6 separate regions of the Homo sapiens genome follow, and all the other regions are linked to region 1. The links are contacts of gene promoters, found by promoter capture Hi-C in human tissues and cell types (Jung and others, 2019). All regions are on one chromosome and are shown on one strand. The core of a region is centred on a gene start or on the middle of the fragment in contact, and the rest is flanking DNA. Distances in the headings are between cores, read along the strand shown.

Region 1 (3,220 bases), core at 605-3,104:
TCACCGCAACCTCTGCTTCCCAGTTTCAAGTGATTCTCCTGCCTCAGCCTCCCCAGTAGCTAGGATTATAGGCACGTGCGCCACCACGCCCGGCTAATTTTTGTATTTTTTTGTAGAGACGGGGTTTCACCATGTTGGCCAGGTTGGTCTCGGACTCCTGACCTCAGGTGATCCGCCCGCCTTGGCCTCCCAAAGTGCTGGGATTGCAGGCGTGAGCCACCGCGCCTGGCCAAGGGCCTTATTTTTAAGAGATACATGCTCAGTATTTGGTGTTGGGGTGAAATGTCATATCTACAATTTTCAAATGGTTCCGAAAAGACACACAGACGAAGCAAATATGGCAAACTGTTAACAAGTACTGGAATCTACGTGGTATCATTATATTGTCTTTTAAAGTTTTCTCTGTTTAGTTTTCTTTTTATAATACAAAATTAAGGGGAACTGCAGGCTAGACAGTTTTGATCCGATGTTATTCTGCTAATCTTTTAAAGGTGTCTTGCGGTGACTCACGCCTGTAATCCCAGCACTTCGGGAGGCTGGGGCGGGTGGATCACCTAAGGTCAGGAGTTCAAGACCAGCCTGGCCAAAATGGAGAAACCCCGTCTCTACTAAAAATATAAAAACTAGCCTTAGCCCGTCGTGGTGGCGGGCGCCTGTGGTTCCAGCTACCCAGGAGGCTGAAGCAGGAGAATCTGAAGCAGAAGGCTGAAGCAGAAGGCAGAGTGGGGACTCCCCCACGCTTTGGCTTTCAGAACAAGGGTTCGAATTCTGGGGCTATTACTTTCTGACCGTGTGGTTTTCTGCAAGCATCTTAACCCGGGCCTCAGTTTCCTCATCTGTAAATGGGAACAGGAATTCCTACCTCTTATGGTTGTACTGGGCGTTATGTGAGCCCAAGGAGCCCTGACCTGCGGTGAGAGGCTGGAGGCCGAAGGGCAAGGTTCGAGGGGCTCTGGGTGCCTGGGACAACCTCTGGGCAACAGGGAGAGGCGGCTGCGGGGCCAAGTCCCTCCTAAGCGGCCACGCGAGAGGCCCTGAGTCGAGAAGGGTTACGGCGCTTCCCAGAGCCCACCCCGCCCAACGTGTCACAAATAAAGCTGGCCTTTCTCCGATTCCCTGATTGCAGCCATTCAGGGAGCAGCCCCTTGCCCACGCATCCATTAGTCGAGGCGGTGGCTGCGTGTGCAGTGCTACAGGGTTCAGCGCCTGCCTCGGCTCCGGAATCAGGCTGTTTCCTTCTAGACCTCCCATGGGGGATTCAAGCCGGCGTCCGGGTCAAAGAACAGGGACAAAGTCCTCCTGCCACGGGGGACCATCTGCAGGCAAAGTGAAGAATGAGGAGCTTCGGCAAAATGCCGACTAAGGCCTCCTTAGGTTTTGCCCCACTCCAAGATGGAAGGCCTGAGGCTTCACACTGCCCCCGAAGTTCCTTTCCCATTGGCTATCTGGGAATTGAGTTTTCCAATAATGCGGACGCTGATTGGTCAATCCAGGACGGTTGCTCAAGCCATTGGCGCAGCCGCCATTGGAGGGCGGCTCTCAAAAGTTTTCAGACACAAATTAGGTTCGAGGGAGGAAACGGAGAGGAAAGGGAAAACTTGAGACGGAGGCGGGACTAAGGAAACGGCAGCTTGCATTGGTTTATTAGAGGCCAAGGGGCGGCTCTTGAACGTTCCTTCCTCTTGATTAGTCCTATTTAGGAAAAGAGGGCGGGTACTGAGGAAAAGCGGCAGAAGCGCCTGCTTCCATTGGTCAGTCCTGGCAGGAGGCGGAGCACCCGCGGCAGCTGATTGGTGCGGGAGGCAAGGTGGGCGGGGCTCTGAGCCGGAGGTTTTGTTGTGAGGGTCGGTTGTCAAGCAGCGGCCAATCAAGGCAGGGGATGGAGGCAAGTGGGGGTCGCGCCTGGAGCGGAGCCTCGGCCTCCGGAGCCGCAGCTGCAGGTGGAGTGGGCAAGGGGACGAGGTGGCGAGGGGACGGTGGGCCCTGGGCTGGGCCGAGCCAGGCGGGGCTGGCTGGGCTTGCGGGCAGAGAGCTCTGAGCGTGGGGAGGCTAGAGCCCGTACTCCGCAAGCAGAGGGTTGGGAGGATCAGCCGTGGCCGAGGGACCTGCCCCCGCCCCCGGACGAGAGGGGTCGGGGTGGAGGCCGGAGGGGGCAAAACCAGGGAGGCCGGAAGCAGAGCTGGGGGTCTGCAGAAGGACAGGTAATGAATAGGGAGAAGAGAAGTAGGAGAATGAATGAATGGGAGACCCCGCGAGCATATGGGAAAGGGCAGTAACGGGAGTCTGGCGAGGCAGGGGCCACGTGAGGGATATCGGGAGACAGGATGTGCATAAGTGGGAGACTCAGGGGGCAGGGAGAAAAGGGGGTGTGAACGGAGGACTAGAGAGGCAGACCCGGGGACCCAGGAGAAAGGGGACGGAGGGGAGCGGGCTCATGGGAAAGAGGTGAAGTGGCTGTGGGAAGGAGGTGGGAGGCTCCATGAGGAGGCCTTTTAGAGTTGAAGAGTCATAGCCACTTACGCCCAGACTGGAGGCCTAGTTCCTAGCTCTGTCCTTGGGAATCGCAGGGAGCAGGAGCGGTTCCCTTGCCAGGAGCTGGGGAATTGGACCATCAGGGTCGTCTTCGAGATTCTTTCCAAGGAGGACTTCAGTGGCCGTCTCTGGGATGCCTTTCCTAGGCCCCTAAGCTTAGCTTCTGACTCCGCTCTCCCACATCCCACACGTCAGACAAAAACAACGACTCGCAGGAAATCTATGTGAATTGCAGACACGTGGTCTTCTCCGCCCCACTGCGGCTGCTGCACTTTAGGCAGCCAGCATCCCGGAACAGAGCTGCAGCTCATTATCCTGGCCTCTGGGAGGAGTTTCTTTTTCCTTACGTTCCAAATCACCCTACCTGAGGTGCCCCCTCTGCAGATTCCCAAACCTAATTTGCAGTGCAGCTTCTGACTCTGGTGGCTTTGGTGGGTGTCAGTCTTTATCAAGTGGTCTTGGTGATCCAGGGAGCAACAGCTCTTACCAAGCATTTTCTAACATGACGTCACCTCTTGTTTGTATTGCAGCCCTGTATTGAGCTGAGATGGCTCGAGCCTAACATTCCATGATCCAGGATCGTGACAGATGTGCACAGGCTGCTGCTGTTGCTGCTGTGGGTAATTTGGAACCACGAGGCACCCCAGGGCCAGAAGACGAGGCATTCTGTCTGCCTGGATGTGTGGGA
Region 2 (3,009 bases), core at 1-2,500, 280 kb before region 1:
AAGATTGACTGGTTTTTTTCCCCCAATAGGGTGGAACTGGCTTTATTTTGTAGTTATAAAGAACATACCATGGAGTTGGTTCTTGGGAGTTGTGTTCTAAAGGCAATCTATTAGGCAAGAATTGTCTGTGATCAAAACTCCCATGTTTCATTGACTCTAAGATGCCATTGGTTGTAAGAAGCATCATTTTTAAATGCATCAGTAAAAAAGAAAACATACTGCCCTTCGAACTATGACAAAGCACTTCTGTGATTCACACTGATTTTTTAAAATGAAAAATATATCTGCATCTTAGAATTAATGACATATGGTGTTTGAAAACCCCCAAGAAGGCACCACTTTGGAGACCAACACATCTTATTTTCCCAGAAACTCTAATAGCATTTTCTGCATTAGTACAGACTGCTGCTTTAGATTAGGCAGCAGGCTCATGTTCAGGCCATGTTGTAGAGAATCCTCCAGCATAGCAAGATACCATCCTCCAAGAGACTGAGGGGATGACAGAGTTGCATCTTCCATCCCAGGCTTGCTGCAGGGCATCTACCCATGGACAATGGGCAAGGTTGCTGCTTTACTGAAATTTAACTGTTATTTCCTTGTCTTCTCTCACTCCCAAGTGCACATTTGGTAACAGAAGTCTCATTAGTGAAATGTGGGTGCTCTGACTCCACTGTAGGCTCATTGTGAAAACTGAACAATACAAACAAATATAAAAAAGAATGTAGAAAACACCTATAATCACACCAAAGATCATACTATCAACATTTATGCCTAGATCTTTCCAATTAAAACCCTTTATATGATTCATTCTTTAAATGTTTATTGAGCAAATAATGTGCCCTAGGCACTGTGCTAGTCCAAGAGACATGACAGGGGTCAAAGTGGTCAAGATGGATCTGCTTCCTGCCCTTGTTGAGCTTCCAGTCTAGCAACATTAATAAAATATATACAAATGTTTACTTAGAAGATGTGGTAAGTGCTATCAAGGAAAGGTGCTGTTGGGCTGTATAATGGAGGGACCCGATCATTAGATCAGGTCACAGCTGCGAGATTGACTGGTTTTTTTCCCTCAATAGGGTGGAAATGGCTTTATTTTGTAGATATAAAAGTAATGAACCATGGAATTGGTTCTTGAGAGTTGTGTTCTAAAGGCAACCTATTGGCAAGAATTGTCTGTGATCAAAACTACCATATTTCATTGACTCTAAGATGCCATTGGTTGTAAGAAGCACCATTTTTAAGTACATCAGTAAAAAAAGAAAACATGTTGCCTGTTAAACTATGACAAATAGTCTAATTTGTCCTATTAAAGGGTTGGAGGGCTGGGCACAGTCGCGCATGCCTATAATCCCAGCACTTTGGGAGGCCAAGGCAGAGGGATTGCTTGAGCCCAGCAGTTTGGGACCAGTCTGGGCAACCTAGGGAGAGACCCCATCTCTACAAAAAATACAAAAATTAGCCAGGCATGGTGGTGCTTGCCTGTGGTCCCAGCTACCTGGGAGGCTGGGGTGGGAGGATCTCTTGAGCCTGGTAGGTCAAGGCTGCAGTGAGCCATAATGATGCCATTGCACTCCAGCCTGGGCAACAGAGTGAGACCTTGTCTGAAACCATATATGAGGTGGGTAACAGGGTGGTCAGGAAAGGCTTTTGAGCTGAGAATTGAAGAATGAATAGGCTTTACCTGACTTTGTGGGTAGGAGATGGACAAGTCCAAATACAGAAACTGCACAGGCAAGGTGGAAAGAAAAAGAAGGATGGTACGTTAGAAGAACCACAGAGAACCACCATGCAGAGAGTGCAGGAAGAGAGATTTGAGATGAGCAAGGCTGGAAAGGTCAGTCGAGGTCAAATCAGGCAAGGTCCTAAAGGTCATGATGAGGAGTCAAGCTTTTCTTCTAAGAACAATTGAAGATATTGGATTAAATTTGGCATTTCAAAATGCTCATTTTGGCTGCCAGATGAAAAGTGGATTGGAGGCAGAGAGAGACTCATTGGGGGCTGCTGCCAGACATACAGGAGAGATGAGGTGGTCTGGCTTAGAGTAATGGCAGTGGGTAAGTTCAGGAATAGCTTGGACATGGGAGAGAGTGACAGGATGGCACCAGAGTTGCAAGTTTGCATGTGTGGGTACCCAATGGTGGTGTTTTCTAAGGTGAAGGCCATTGGAAGAGGACCAGCTTTGGGGAAGGGTACAGTCTTGATCCTTGTTGAGTATGAGGAGTTTTTGAGTCAACCAGTGGAGGCATCAAGCATACAGGTCAGGAACTGGAGGAAACAGCTGGACTAGAGATACACATTTGGGCATATATATATATATATACAGTATATATATGCACGCTGATTTTATATATATATATATATATAAAATAATTATGGAAGTCAGTGAGATTGTCCAGGGCAAGAATATAATGTCATATGAGAGGGGAGTCCAGACTCTCAAGGAACGCGGACATTTAAGGGGAGAGTAGAATAGGATGGGCCGTCAAAGTCTAAGTCAGAGCATCCTGATGTTGGAGGCAAAGCAGGAGAGTGTGGATTAAGCAGCTAGACATTGGTTACTGGGGCAACAACCGTTTGGGTGGAGAACTGGATCAGAAATCAACTGGAGTGGATCGAGGTGTGCATAGAAGGCGAGGAAGTGGCGAGGCGTTTGGCTGCGAGGGGTAGAACTAGGGTGCACCAAGCAGGAGAAACAGATGGAAGTTTGGACATGATTGAACACAAATGGGAAGAGTACAGAAACAAGAGTGGACCAGGCTCATATGTGTAATCCCAGCACTTGGGGAGGCTGAGGCGGGAGGATTGCTTGACACTAGGAGTTTGAGGCCAACCTGGGCAATATGGCGAGACCCCATCTCTACAAAAACATTTAAAAATTAGCCAGATGCGGTGGCGCATACCTGTGGTCCCAGGCTAAGATGGGACGATTGCTTGAGCCCAGGAGGTCAAGGCCTCAGTCATGCCACTGCTTGAGTGACAGAGCAAGACACTGTCTCAAAAAAAAAGTAA
Region 3 (2,994 bases), core at 440-2,939, 380 kb after region 1:
CCAGCCGCATGGGCATGGTGCAGATGAAGGGTTTGACCCGGGTGGTGCTCTGGTAGTTACTTGCCCGAAAGCGACGACGCACATTCTTGTCATCTAGTACCTGTGAAATACAGAGAAGAAGCATCACACTAGCTCTGTCTTGGAAGAAGCACACAACCTTGTCCAGACAAGGACCTGAATTCCCACAGCTTGCTTTCCCAAGGCTGAGACTTAGAGGAAAATAAACAGACCAGACACAGGTCATACACTGCATGCAGATGGCCCGGAAGTAGCAAGTTTATCTTGTTTGTTGCCAAGACAACACCAGCTGCTTATGACATATAACACAGTCAGCAGGCTCTCAGACCATAGAGTATATAAATGTTCTTCCTTTTGAAAAATCAGAAATACTAAAACAGAACAGCCACCCACTATTAAATAATCACTCCCCAAATGGATACCACGCTAACTCTGACACTTTGAAATTACTAGGTTTTCTAGGTGCTGTTTCTTTAAAAACCTGATTAAATTTTATTACTAATATCAAATTTACATAACAAGGACTGCACTGGGCTTATACTAGAAGCAGAAAAGAATACATGCAAAAGGATAAAGATACTTTGTAGGGTCACTTTTTCCCATCAGTTCAAAGGCTATCACTTTGGTATAGCCAAGAGTGGACACATTCATGTACACATACTTACCTGCACTTCGAAGGTAAAATACTTCTTCAGGTTTTTGATAATCATGACAAGGAAAGGAAGTTTAATTCCCAGCGTCTTCTTGGGGTCTGCAGGGCATGTGATATATGTGGTGCTGTAGAGAGAGGAAATACTAATAAACACACTCCTGGACTCTCTTCCTTTGTGGTATGCACAACAATAACACACGGTCCAAGAGGATACACTGGAAAGCAGATCTAAAAGATTCAGACACGCCACCCAGTGAATCCCTCAGCCCTAAGTCAGCGGCTGCTTTAACAAACGCTGGACCCAGAAACAAAAGCTTAACACAGGACTAGACAGCAGCAATAAAATATCTGAAAAACAAAGCCAGACAGTGGATCTTAGAAGCTCCTCCAGTGAGAGAAGACCTCAATTCTGGTCCAGGGGAGCCATCGAATGACAGAAAACCAAAACTGAGACCTCTATGGCACTGAAAACCACACTGTCCACCCACTGGATGAGCTGTACAACACTGCCCACTCCCCACCCCAACACACACTTTGGTTAATAATATAGCTAATACTGACATCGTGCTTACTATGTGCTAAGCAAGGCTTTACGTGTTTTATATATATTCATTTATTTACTCCTCGCAATAACCCTATAAGGAAAATGTACTATTATTCTGCCCATTGTACAGATGAGTATGCTAAGGTCTGGGGGATTCAGTAACTTGCCCATGGTAAGCTCTAAGTGGCAGAGATAGACTCACATCCGGCACTCTGACTCCGCAGTCTGTGCTATTAACCTCTATGACGTACTGCCTCCCTAGTATATGATGTCTCTGGGAGAACAGAGGTGGCAACCTACCTTACATTTGTCCCTTCAATCTCTAGCACCAGGGACTGGATGTCATTATCAGTGATTCTTTTGATGTGGCCATTCCGTACCTACAAGAAAGAAAATTCGATTAGTACTGAAATATCTGACAAGGCTGAATAGGACTATTTAAAGAAAACCACGGTAGCCCAAGAGGCGTACAAAGAAATTTGTGACACAGCACACTGAAGCTTATATGTAAGTAAGCCAAGCTATTACCTCTAGACAGGGTCACACCAACCACCAAGGGAATCCCAGGTAACTTGGCAATCCCTAAATCTGGGGAAACTTCTCCCCAAATACATCAACTCAATTTAGATTCAGCTAATATCTACTGAATGCCTACTATGCACCAGGAATATCACACACATCCCCTTCTCACTTAAGCCTCACACAATAAAAACAACAAGGCAGGTGATACTGTTTTCATTTTACAAATGTGGACATTGGCACCCCGGAACTGCAAATGCCAAACCCTAAGTAGGAGACTAAGGATTCAGCAGCCTTTCCACTGCCTCATACTGCCTCGTAGATTTCTTTCTTTCTCTTTCTTTTTTCTTTTTTCTGAGACGGAGTCTCGCCCTGTCGCCCAGGCTGGAGTGCAATGGCGCGATCTTGGCTCACCGCAACCTCTGCCTTCCAGGTTCAAGCGATTCTCTTGCCTCAGCCTCCTGAGTAGCTGGGATTATAAGCGTGCAGCACCATGCCCAGCCGATTTTTTTTTTTGTATCTTTAGTAGAGACGGGGTTTCACCATGTTGGCCAGGCTGGTCTCGAACTCCTGACCTTGTGATCCACCTGCCTTGGCCTCCCAAAGTGCTGGAATTACAGGCATGGGCCACTGCGCCCGTCCTGCCTTGTATATTTCTTTGGCCAGAAAAGCCAAAGAAAAGCTGAGTGTTACTGAGGAGGGCAGCAACAAAAAGTGAAAGCATTCCTCCCCTGGAGTTATCCTGCTTCATGCTTCCCTATCTGCTTTTGCCTAATTTTCTACTTTTTAAAGCAGGAATTCAATTCCCATCTGTGCCACACACAGATGCCTTCTTTAGCATTTTCAGCCCACACTGACCTCTCTTTTCTCTGATTTGTTTTTCTGGCTCATGTTGTCTAGACGACATAATTTAGCACCTCATCCTACATTGTTTTGTATTGTTTGCTGCATATGTAGGAGGTAGATGATGGGGAGGAATCAATATTCAATACAGATTCCTCCTCTCAAAATATTTAGGAAAGAACAATTATCTTCAAGCATTAAACTTTTAAGCAACTAATATGGACAGAACAGAGATATGCAAAGGCACTTTCAAAACAGGGCTGGGGCCAGGCACAGTGGCTCATGCCTGTAATCCCAGCACTTTGGGAGGCCAAGGCAGGAGGATAGCTTGAGCTCAGGAGTTCAAGATCAGCTTGGGCAACATAGTAAGACATTGTTTCTACAAAAAATTAGCCAGGTGTGGTGGCGTGCACCTGTA
Region 4 (3,216 bases), core at 362-2,861, 360 kb after region 1:
CTCCCCTTGGACAGGCCTACTCCACCCTCTGCTCGTCAGACTCTTTCTCACTTCTGCTCCAGAGCCCCCGCGGCTCTCCTCTTCTTCATCTCTGTTTTCCTCTTCAAATTCCAGAGAGAGGAATCCAACAGCCGTGGCCTGGCACTGGCCAGCCCAGGAGATCATCATGCAATCGTCTTCAGCCAGCAGCCCAGGGCAGGTCCACACCCCAGGGTGATTCACTCAGAAATCCACTCATTCTTTCATCCCTGTGCCAGGCACTGTCCTGGGGGCAGGGGATCCAGCAGGGAAGAAACAGATGCGGCCCTGCCCTCCCGGGGCAGACAGTCCATGGAGACTCTTCTCTCCTCCCCACGTTTCTAGGAGCCTCAGTCTTCCCACCTGGTGAAGATTTCTTCATTTCTCCTCTCCTCGCCATAAAACCCTTCTATGCAGCTGAGACACAGTTGGGGGCCCAAGAAGGAGGCCAACCACAAGGACCACATGAGGACCCTAAGACAATGACAACTACAGTTACCATGACAACACTCACTGTGGACTGACTCCTGCCTCAAGGCTGTTCCATCTGCTATCAGTGAATCCCCGCCATGCCCTAGGAAGGTGCACGTGGCTGTTATTCCCATTTCTGTGAAACAGGAAAGCACAGTGAGGTTCATGTCACATCCTCAGGTCTCAGAGCTCAGGTTGGTAAGCACTGGAGCCAGGTTTATTCCAAGTCATCACGCCCTGAAGGGAAGGGCTGAGCCACTGAGCCACTTGGTTTTTCCCACTCAGAAGGGCACATCCATTGGTTCATTGCCCTGCAATGATCCTGCGCCATCAGAGGTGTAAGGCCTCCACTAAGCCTGCCTTCTGGATGGAAGAAGGTGTTGGGCAGGGCCTGCCTGGAAGAGGGGGACAATCACCACCCTTGCCTAGCCAGCCCCTTACGAGGAGAGACACTACCCTCCCCCAGCAGCCCAGCCTCAGTCTCAGGGACCTCTTTTCCTTCTCCACTGTTGCCAGTGGCACAGGGGCCAGTGCGGGGAGCTGTGCCCACTTTACCATCCCATGCTCAGGACACCAGATCTATTTCCGACATTTCACACCTCTGGCCTCTGGCCTCCCTGGCCCGTCTCTATCCTCTGCAGCCCCCATTGCAGCCAGGGTGGCCTCCTGCTCCCCAGCAACCCCTGTGGCCATGTGGGCTGCCCTCGTCAGGCTCACCCCACTGCTGGGCCCGACAAGGCCATCCATGTGTCCCAGTTGGAAGCTAGTGATCAACTCAAAATAACTACTCCCCTCCACTCTGACACAACTGTCTTCCCCAGAAGGACAACAGCTGCAAGGGATTAGAGCTGGGGATGGAAGGAGAGAACCCCCCACCCACAGCCCCAAGCCCACGGAGCTGGAGCAGGTGGCAGCGACGTGGGGTGAGGAGCCTGTGTCTAGGGCTGCCCTGTCTTCTGGAAAAAGTTCCTCTCCCCCTGGAGCTGGAGAAGGTGAAAGAGGGGATCTGGAGGGTGCAGCCTCCCCTACCCTAGCACCCCAGCCTGGCCCACGTGTGGCTGGAACCCGCCTGCCTCCAAGCCTGGGGCTGCAGCCTGGAAATCGATGGGAGGGAACCACGTGCTCCTGCTTACCCAAAAGCTGGCTGTCCCGAGCCTGGGCCTCTTGATTCGCTCCACTTGGTTCTCCTTCCCCCCACAGCCTGGTGCCACACCTCCTAGTCCTTCCTCCACAAAGCCTTCCTCCACACCACCACCCAAAGTCCAGAATCACACAGTTCACCCACCCCCACACTCTCTCTAACTGTATTTCTAGAGGGGAACACTTCCCTGGGTGAGGATGACACCCCTGTCCCTTTCCTGGGAAAGCTTGATCACTTTCTCCCTCCGGGTCACAAGGGTTTTCAGGGCCACATTTTCAGGCCACCTCCCGAGCACATATGAAGAGAGGTGGCATCAAAACAGACCTCCACCTGGCAGGTAGTCCTTGACCTTCCTGCCTTTACTGAGCCTTTTTCCTCCCCCTCATCCTTCTAGCTTTAAGAAAACATCGGCTGGGCGACGTGTCTCCTGCCTATAATCAAAGCCCTTTAGGAGGGTGAGGTGGGAGGGTTGCTTGAGGCCAGGAGTTCAAGACAAACCTGGTCAACAGAGCAAGACCTCATCTCTACAAAAAAAAATTTAAAAAACTTGGCCGAGTATGGTGGTGCATGCCTGTAGTCCCAGCTACTCAGGAAGTTGAGGTGGGAGGATCGCTTGAGCCTAGGAGGTTGAGGCTGCAGTGAGCTGTGATCGTGCCACTGCACTCTAGCCTGGGTGACAGAGCAAGACCCTGTCTCTAAAAAAGGAAAACTTCACATTATATGCACTTTTGGTAAACCTCATATCCTTTTAGGAACTGAAATGAGATACACATTAATAAATGAATAAATATTACCTGCTTTCTCCAGACTGTCCTTTAATGCATCTTTTCCTCTCCTTGCTCAAGGACACTTGGGGTCTGAGGAGAAGGGGCAGGTACTGAGACGAGGGGACTGGGTGCTCCTCTAGGACCTGAGCCACTCAGGTTTTTGTAATCAGCTGCTCTCTGAGGAAGCACCTGAAACTTCATGGCTTGAAACCACCACCATCGTATTTGCTCCCAATTCTTCCCTTTTTTTTGAAACAGAGTTTCACTCTTGTTGCCCAGGCTGGAGTGCAGTGGCACAATCTCGGCTCACTGCAATCTCCGCCTCCGAGATTCAAGCAATTGTCCTGTCTCAGCCTCCCAAGTAGCTGGGATTACAGGCGCATGCCACCATGCCCAGCTAATTTTTGTATTTTTAGTAGAGACAGGGTTTCATCATGTTGGCGCTGGTCTCAATCTCCTGACCTCAGGTGATCTGCCCACCTCGGCCTCCCCAAAGTGCTGGGATTACAGGTGTGAGCCACAACACCTGGCCTTGTTTTTTTTTTTTTTTTTGTTGTTGTTGTTGTTTTATTTTTTTGAGACGGAGTCTCACTCTGTCACCCAGGCTGGAGTGCAGTGGTGCAATCTCGGCTCACTGTAAACCTCTGCCACCCAGGTTCAAGTGATTCTCCTGCCTCAGCCTCCTGAGTAGCTGGGATTACAGACGTGCACCACCACGCCCAGCTAATTTTTGTATATATATATTTATTAATAGTGATGAAGTTTTATCATGTTGGCCAGGCTGGTCTCAAACTCCTGATCTCAAGTGATCCACCCGCC
Region 5 (3,380 bases), core at 152-2,651, 300 kb before region 1:
GCATAGTCACAAATCTGGGCTTTAAATACGTTCACACCTACAAGTCCAGAAAGGTCACTATAGCTGTTCACACCCAAACTGGGGCCTGAAAGAAAGCAATCAAGTGACAATGCTGCCAGCTCACCATGCTGTCGTCCTCCATATCGTTGGCTGAGAGGGTCCACAGCTTGGCAGCAGCAGGGTCCACAGCAGGTTTCACTGAGTCCAAGCAATAAAAGAAAAAACTCCATAAACACAGTCAGAAACTATTAATTACAAACATACATAAATGCTTCCTGCTGTGTAGAAGAGAACACACTGGCCTGGGAGGCAGAAGATGTGGGTTCACAGTCCAGCTCTACCCCTCTGAGAGGTCTGACCTTGGGCCAACCACTTGCTGATAGTTACAGAAGTCACCATTTGCTAAGCTCTTGCTTTGCACCAGGCACCATATTAAGCACTTATATACATTATCTAACTTAATTCTGCTGACAACCTTATGAGGTAACTATCTGTCATCCTACTTTTACCGCTGAGGAAACAGGTTTAGACACTTAGGCTGGTTCCACAGGCTGCAAAGCCTGTCTGATGCTTTTAACCTCCATTCCATATTGCTTCCTCCTCGATACCTTAGTTTCCATTCTATAACATGAAGTTAAATTGTACTTCCTATGTTACTGCAGGTGTTTTGAGGATTAAATGAGAAATGTGTCAAAACCTTCAAAAATAGCAGAGCTTTAGCCTCATGTAAACCTGCTACATACAAGAAAATAGGCTCTAGAGCTGCTGGTGGCAAGGTAACACCATCAGTGGCAGACAAACCTCACACTTCCTGGTTCTCTGTCTAGTCAGGAGAATGCAAGGAAGAGGCAGAGAGCTGAGGCTCGGATGCAGTGTGGGCAAATCCTCGCAGGCCCTTGGGGTAAGAGTACCCTCTAGTGATCATTGTCACAGCTGGATGCTCATACCTTCCACAAGGCCAACTGTTCTAAGCTATTCCTACCCATTCTGGAACCATGAATCGAAAGGTTAGATTCCAAAGGATTTCTTGAAGATTTAGGTTAGACAGTCAAAACCGTACAAGTGGGAATGTACCAGTAAATATCTGTTAATGTCTGCATACCTCACAGCTGGGTCAATTCAGGCATTTAAAAATAGGGATAGGAAGGATGAGGATGGAGCTGTGTGTGTGTGTGTGTGTGCGTGCGCGTGCGTGCACGCGTGTGCTTGTACACAATTTTCTAGTCAGAAGAAATATAGTTTTATAAGTGTCTTAGCATCCTCAAAGTAAGAACAGCTGATTTTCCTGGCATGGGGAAAAAAGCACATGAGAACAGGAACAGGGCACTCTCATACACCATTACCACTACACTGTGAGGTCTTCTGAGGAGAAACGTTAATTCTGGGACCTGGAAGGACCTCATTAATTAAACTGTGTGACTCAGTCCTGTAAAATTAGGAGGCCTCGGTATCTTCTGGTGCAGAAGAAGGAGCTGAACTAGATAATACCTATGTATTATTTCAGTTTTGGATCCTAATATGCCCATGATAATAGTACATTAAGTATTCTTCTTTGTGGAAATGGCAGAAATCAAAGGACTAATCCTCTAAAAATATCACCATCTCATTTATTGCTGGCTCAATTTCTAACATGTCCCTCTAAGCCCATTCAAACAGAAGAATGTCCCTAGGCCAGCCTTACCTGAAGGAGAAGACTTCTTGGTGATGGAAAGCTTAAGCTGCCTAGAAGAACCCACTTCAAAGTTTGGTTTTTTGCCTGTGATCTGAACAAACAGCAGGTTGTCACTTTCATGACCAAGGTGTTCTCGAACAGACTGTACTTCCTCAGGGGTTAGGGGCTCCCGCTGCAGCTAGAATTCAAGACATCAAAAGGATTAGTTCACCCTCCTCTGTAAAATGGTTTACTATGTCTACCTACACAGGAGTCAAAGACTCATTTCTGTGCATTAAGGATGTAACAGTGGATGGTAACAGATAACACTTTATGCCTCACATTCAGTTTCTCACTGATCAGAACCCTAGAGTATAACCTTTGTCTGCATGTTTACTTGGAGCCTACCCCTTGGAAAATGTAAAAGTACTTAAAAAACATTAGGGATGAGGCATATACTAGTTATTTGGGATGTAATACAATTATGAAAATGAACCAGATGTGGTCCTACTGTGTAACAGGAAAGAATGCCCACAATGAAGACAGCAGAAATTTATATCCCAAAAGAAAAAGGGGGAGGAAAATCCTTTCTATGTTCCTTGGGATAAAGTAGCAGAGAGTAAAGGTAGAAAAAAAGGGTCAGGGTGCCACCTCTATGTCCAATAATTATAGACTGGTTACATAAATCACAGTCCATCTATTGTATGGAATACTATTACATCATTAATATGAATGAAGGGAAATACACTGAAGTAGGTAAGTGTCTATGATATCTAAGGGTGGGAAAAAAGGTGATTGAACAATGTATACTTATGATCTTATTTACATTTTTAAAAAAGTATGTGCATGTAGATGCTTGTAAATACATAGGAAAAGGTCTGAACGGACATACAAAAAGGCATTGGTGGCTTCCTCTGGGGAGGGAAGTGTGAGCAAGAAGTGGGATGTCACTTTATATTCTGTATGCTTTGGTGTAAAGTGAATTTTTATGAGGAGTCTGATATAGTTTGGATATGTGTCCCCTCTAAATCTCATGTTGAACTGTAATCCCCAATGTTGGAGGTGGGGCCTGGTGAGAGGTGACTGGATCATGGGGGCAGATTTCTCATGAATGGTTTAGCACCATCTGAATTCTCATGAGATGTGGTGGTTGTAAAGTATGGCACCTTCCCCACCCCGACTCTTCCTCTCTTTCTTGATCCTGCTTTTGCCATGTGATGTGCCTGCTCCTGCTTCACCTTCTGCCACGAGTAAAAGTTCATTGAGGCCTCCCTAGAAGCCAAGCAGTTGCAGGCCCGTGCTTCCTGTACAGTCTGCAGAACAGTGAGCCAATTAAACCTCTTGTCTTTATAAATTATTCAGTCTTAGGTATTCCTTTATAGGAACAGAAGAATGGCCTAATACACATTCCTTATTTTAAAATCAAGCACAGAAAACCTTAAGCTAAAAGGAAAAATAAGAAAGGGTTGGCATAAAGAATCTAAGGCCTGGCATAAAGAATCTAAGGCCTGGCTCACGCCTGTAATACCAGCACTTTGGAAGGCCAAGGTGGGTAGATCACCTGAGGTCAGGAGTTAGAGAACGGCCTGGCCAACATAGCGAAACCCCATCTGTACTAAAAATACAAAAAATTAGCCAGGTGTGGTGGCGCACGCCTGTAATCCCAGCTACTCGGGAGGCTCAGGCAGGAGAATTGCTTGAACCCAGGAGGCGGATGATGCAGTAAGCA
Region 6 (3,092 bases), core at 411-2,910, 490 kb before region 1:
GCAACAGAGCAAGACTCCCTCTCAAAAAATAAATAGGCCGAGCGCAGTGGCTCACGCCTGTAATCCCAGCACTTTGGGAGGCCAAGGCGGGCGGATCACCTGAGGTCGGGAGTTCAAGACCAGCCTGACCAACATAGAGAAACCCCATCTCTACTAAAAACACAAAAAAATTAGGCATGGTGGCGCATGACTGTAATCCTAGCTACGCGGGAGGCTGAGGCAGGAGAATCGCTTGAAACCGGTAGGCGGAGGTTGTGTTGAGCCGAGATTGCACCATTGCACTCTAGCCCGGGCAGTAAGAGCGAAACTCCATCTCAATAAATAAATAAATTAGTAATAATTTATGTCACCTTGGTCACAGCTGTCACACCCGACTGTGTCTTTGTAACCATCTTTGTTTCAGATCCCACGGATATCTATTTTAAGTCCATTCAAAGATGTCTGCTAGGCCGGTTGTGGTGGCTCACACCTGTAATCCTAGCCCTTTTGGAGGCCAAGGTAGGTGGATCATCTGAGGTCAGGAGTTCGAGACCAGCCTGGCCAACATGGTGAAACCCTGTCTCTACTAAAAATTCAAAAATAGCCGGGCATAGTGGCACGTACTTGTAATCCTAGCTACTCGGGAGGCTGAGGCACGAGAATCGCTTGAACCTGGGAGGCGGAAGTTGTAGCCAGCCGAGATCGTGCCACTGCCCTCCAGCCTGGGCGACAGAGCAAGACTCCGTCTCAAAAAAATAAAAAATGTCTGCTAACCCATTCTGACTGGCCACCTGACCCTCAGTTCATACCTTAAACCCCTCTAGTTCCTCTAGTCATATACCACACTTTGGCCATAAGGTATCATGCAACTAAAGAGACACAATGCTTAGTTGTCCAATCAAGAGAAATCAGCTCAAACGAATCCTTTTTCAAAGTTTGGCAGTTTTGAAGAGGCCTTTTCCTGAAAGGTATCTGATTCCTGATTGCGTGGCTCAAAATAGTTCTTCAATTCTCATCTTGTATAATTAGTCAAGAAACCAATTACTGCCGAGTAATCTTTATGATGCGAAGATTATAACGTAAATTACAGGACATCGACTTCTTGCGATGGGGCTTTCCTTCCACGAGGGGTAGGAACTGTCTTGAAATCAGACGTCAGCATCACCTGGTTCAAGGGATAAGGGACTGGCTCTCCAGCGACTTGGCAACTTACAAGCGCTCTTTAAACACGCCTTAAACTACTTATTTAATCCTCCACACTCAGGGAGGCGCAATTTATTCTCGAGTTGCGAGTGAGGAAATTCTGGCTCGTGGCTTCGATTCCTTCATCCGTACAATGGGGGCGACTTGAGACGGAGTTCCCACACAACGGGTGCTCGCCGAAGCGCCGCATCCCTCCGCACTCCCTTCCGGGACTTCCTCTCCCTGTCTTGCCCCGCCCCGGCATCGGTAACGCTCGCCTGTGATTGGATGCCGGCCGGCCGTGAGGCGGTGGAAGGGGTTGCGGTGGCCATGGTGACAGGAGGCGGGGCGCCGCGCCCCTCCGGCAGTCACCGAGGCCCGGACCTGCGGCGTCGGCGGCGCGCGCAGAGGGCCAGGCGGGCGTAGAGGCCGGACCGACGCGTGGCGGCAGAGGGTATCCAAGGCCGGACCTGGCGCGCAGGCGCTGACCCGACCTGGCAGTGAGCTGGCCGCGGCCTTGGCTGAGAGGCCTTAACCCCGCCGGGCGGCCGCGCCCTGCATGCGAGTTGGGCCGCGGGCGGGGTTGGAGCCTACTCGGGGCGACTGCGATGGACGCCTTAGAAGGAGAGAGCTTTGCGCTGTCTTTGTGAGTAGCTCCTCCAGGGCGCAGGCGACTTGGGGCCGGAGGCAGCGGGCGTTCGCCCCGGGGCCTGACCCTATAAAACAGGTGTCCTTAGGGGCCGGGCCGGGCCGGGCCGGGCAGGGTGGGGGCCGCCAAGGCGCCGTCCCAGCTCCAGGCCTTCCTTTTGTAGAGTACTAAGGCTGCAGGTTTCAGGCCCCGCAGGACAGGAGTGCGAGGCGGGTGTCACCGTTGATCAGCGCCTCCATCACAATCCCCAGCCGCCAACCCTCAGCTGTCAGCAAAGCCTGGAGGGGTTGAGCGCCCGAGGCCCCTCCACCCCTCCCTGGCCCCCGCCTCCCGGACTCCTGACCAAATGACCCCCCCCGGCAGGTGTTTCGCCCGTGCCGGGTTCATGCTCACAAGCAGACAGGTATGGGGTGATAGCTAAGAGCCTGGAGAACAAGTTTTTATTAAAGTGGAGTCATGACATTGAACGTTCATGTCACAAACGTGCCGAGTGTGTTTTCTTCTGTTTGGACTTACTAGATCAGTCAGTCATTCTTAATCGTTGAAGATGGGTGATGGGAAGTTCGTTTTGCTACTCTTTTTTCTCTTGTGCATGTTTGAAAACGTCCATACTAAAAACATTTTTTTAATGCATTATTTGAAATAGCACCTAATCCAGGCATGTTTTTCAGCTCCTCCGCCTCTGATGCAGAATTTGATGCTGTGGTTGGATATTTAGAGGACATTATCATGGGTAAGCTTTTAAGATACTGTTTTTAAGGACTTGCTTGTTTCTTTAAGGACATTGAAATCAATTTGGAGAGTTAATTTTAAAAAGAGAAAACATCAAGCTGCCTGCAATTTTTAATGTAGCACAATGTAATACTTAAGTAAAGGCTTACTGCAGTTTGTCTTAGAAACAAACAGCCCAGTACTCCTGAAAACATCTAATAAGCATAGATTCAGAGGCTGGAAGGGACTGACTCAGGCTAATAGGGCACCAGCAGTGTGGCGTTCTTCGCAAAACTATAGGAAATAATGATCTACTCTATTTCTTATGTAGGGTAAGAGCAATTTCAATTTTAGATAGTTTTGAGTTTTAACATTTTCATGCCATAAAACACATAAAACCAGGCCAGGTGCGGTGGCTAACGCCTGTAATCCCAGCACTTTGGGAGGCCGAGGTGGGCGGATCACGAGGTCAGGAGATCAAGACCATCCTGGCTAACACGGTGAAACCCTGTCTCTACTAAAAATACAAAAAAAATTAGCCGGGCGTGGTAGCGGGCGCCTGTAGTCCCAG

The links. Contacts are between HindIII fragments. The study calls those that stand out against the background at their distance.
Region 2: a fragment that was not itself captured here is called in contact with the fragment with the promoter of KATNB1 in region 1 in 5 of the 25 tissues and cell types used here (adrenal gland, dorsolateral prefrontal cortex, hippocampus and 2 more).
Region 3: a contact is called between a fragment that was not itself captured here and the fragment with the promoter of KATNB1 in region 1, in 3 of the 25 tissues and cell types used here (dorsolateral prefrontal cortex, mesenchymal stem cells and mesendoderm cells).
Region 4: a contact is called between a fragment that was not itself captured here and the fragment with the promoter of KATNB1 in region 1, in 1 of the 25 tissues and cell types used here (lymphoblastoid cells).
Region 5: a contact is called between a fragment that was not itself captured here and the fragment with the promoter of KATNB1 in region 1, in 1 of the 25 tissues and cell types used here (heart left ventricle).
Region 6: a contact is called between the fragment with the promoter of ARL2BP here and the fragment with the promoter of KATNB1 in region 1, in 1 of the 25 tissues and cell types used here (hippocampus).

The regions. Positions count from the first base shown.
Region 1 is chr16:57,733,916-57,737,135 of GRCh38, forward strand. It overlaps KATNB1 (katanin regulatory subunit B1), which reads left to right and starts at 1,855. Exons shown (of 20, transcript NM_005886.3): 1 at 1,855-1,940; 2 at 3,063-3,220. It overlaps LOC107984852 (a long non-coding RNA gene), which reads right to left and starts at 2,729. Exons shown (of 2, transcript XR_001752221.3): 1 at 2,521-2,729; 2 at 1-1,692. RefSeq lists enhancers at 1-683, 1,313-1,422, 1,402-1,696, 1,443-1,612, 2,981-3,050 and a silencer at 1,923-2,162. The HindIII fragment of the contact is 17,781 bases long and covers 1-3,220 here.
Region 2 is chr16:57,453,054-57,456,062 of GRCh38, forward strand. All of the region lies in intron 3 of COQ9 (coenzyme Q9), which reads left to right. Among named protein-coding and RNA genes, the nearest start is that of COQ9, 7.1 kb to the left of the region's middle. The HindIII fragment of the contact is 7,285 bases long and covers 1-3,009 here.
Region 3 is chr16:58,115,358-58,118,351 of GRCh38, forward strand. CFAP20 (cilia and flagella associated protein 20) reads right to left here. Exons shown (of 6, transcript NM_013242.3): 2 at 1,515-1,594; 3 at 684-795; 4 at 1-100. Among named protein-coding and RNA genes, the nearest start is that of CFAP20, 13 kb to the right of the region's middle. The HindIII fragment of the contact is 4,657 bases long and covers 1-2,994 here.
Region 4 is chr16:58,098,498-58,101,713 of GRCh38, forward strand. No RefSeq gene overlaps it. Among named protein-coding and RNA genes, the nearest start is that of CFAP20, 29 kb to the right of the region's middle. RefSeq lists enhancers at 1-9, 10-510. The HindIII fragment of the contact is 6,305 bases long and covers 1-3,216 here.
Region 5 is chr16:57,432,363-57,435,742 of GRCh38, forward strand. CIAPIN1 (cytokine induced apoptosis inhibitor 1) reads right to left here. Exons shown (of 9, transcript NM_020313.4): 5 at 1,682-1,850; 6 at 125-198. Among named protein-coding and RNA genes, the nearest start is that of CIAPIN1, 13 kb to the right of the region's middle. The HindIII fragment of the contact is 7,381 bases long and covers 1-3,380 here.
Region 6 is chr16:57,243,599-57,246,690 of GRCh38, forward strand. ARL2BP (ARF like GTPase 2 binding protein) reads left to right here and starts at 1,661. Exons shown (of 6, transcript NM_012106.4): 1 at 1,661-1,807; 2 at 2,482-2,543. The coding sequence starts at 1,770. It overlaps LOC124903697 (a long non-coding RNA gene), which reads right to left. Exons shown (of 2, transcript XR_007065082.1): 2 at 2,217-3,092. RefSeq lists silencers at 1,380-1,759, 1,850-2,059. The HindIII fragment of the contact is 10,161 bases long and covers 1-2,915 here.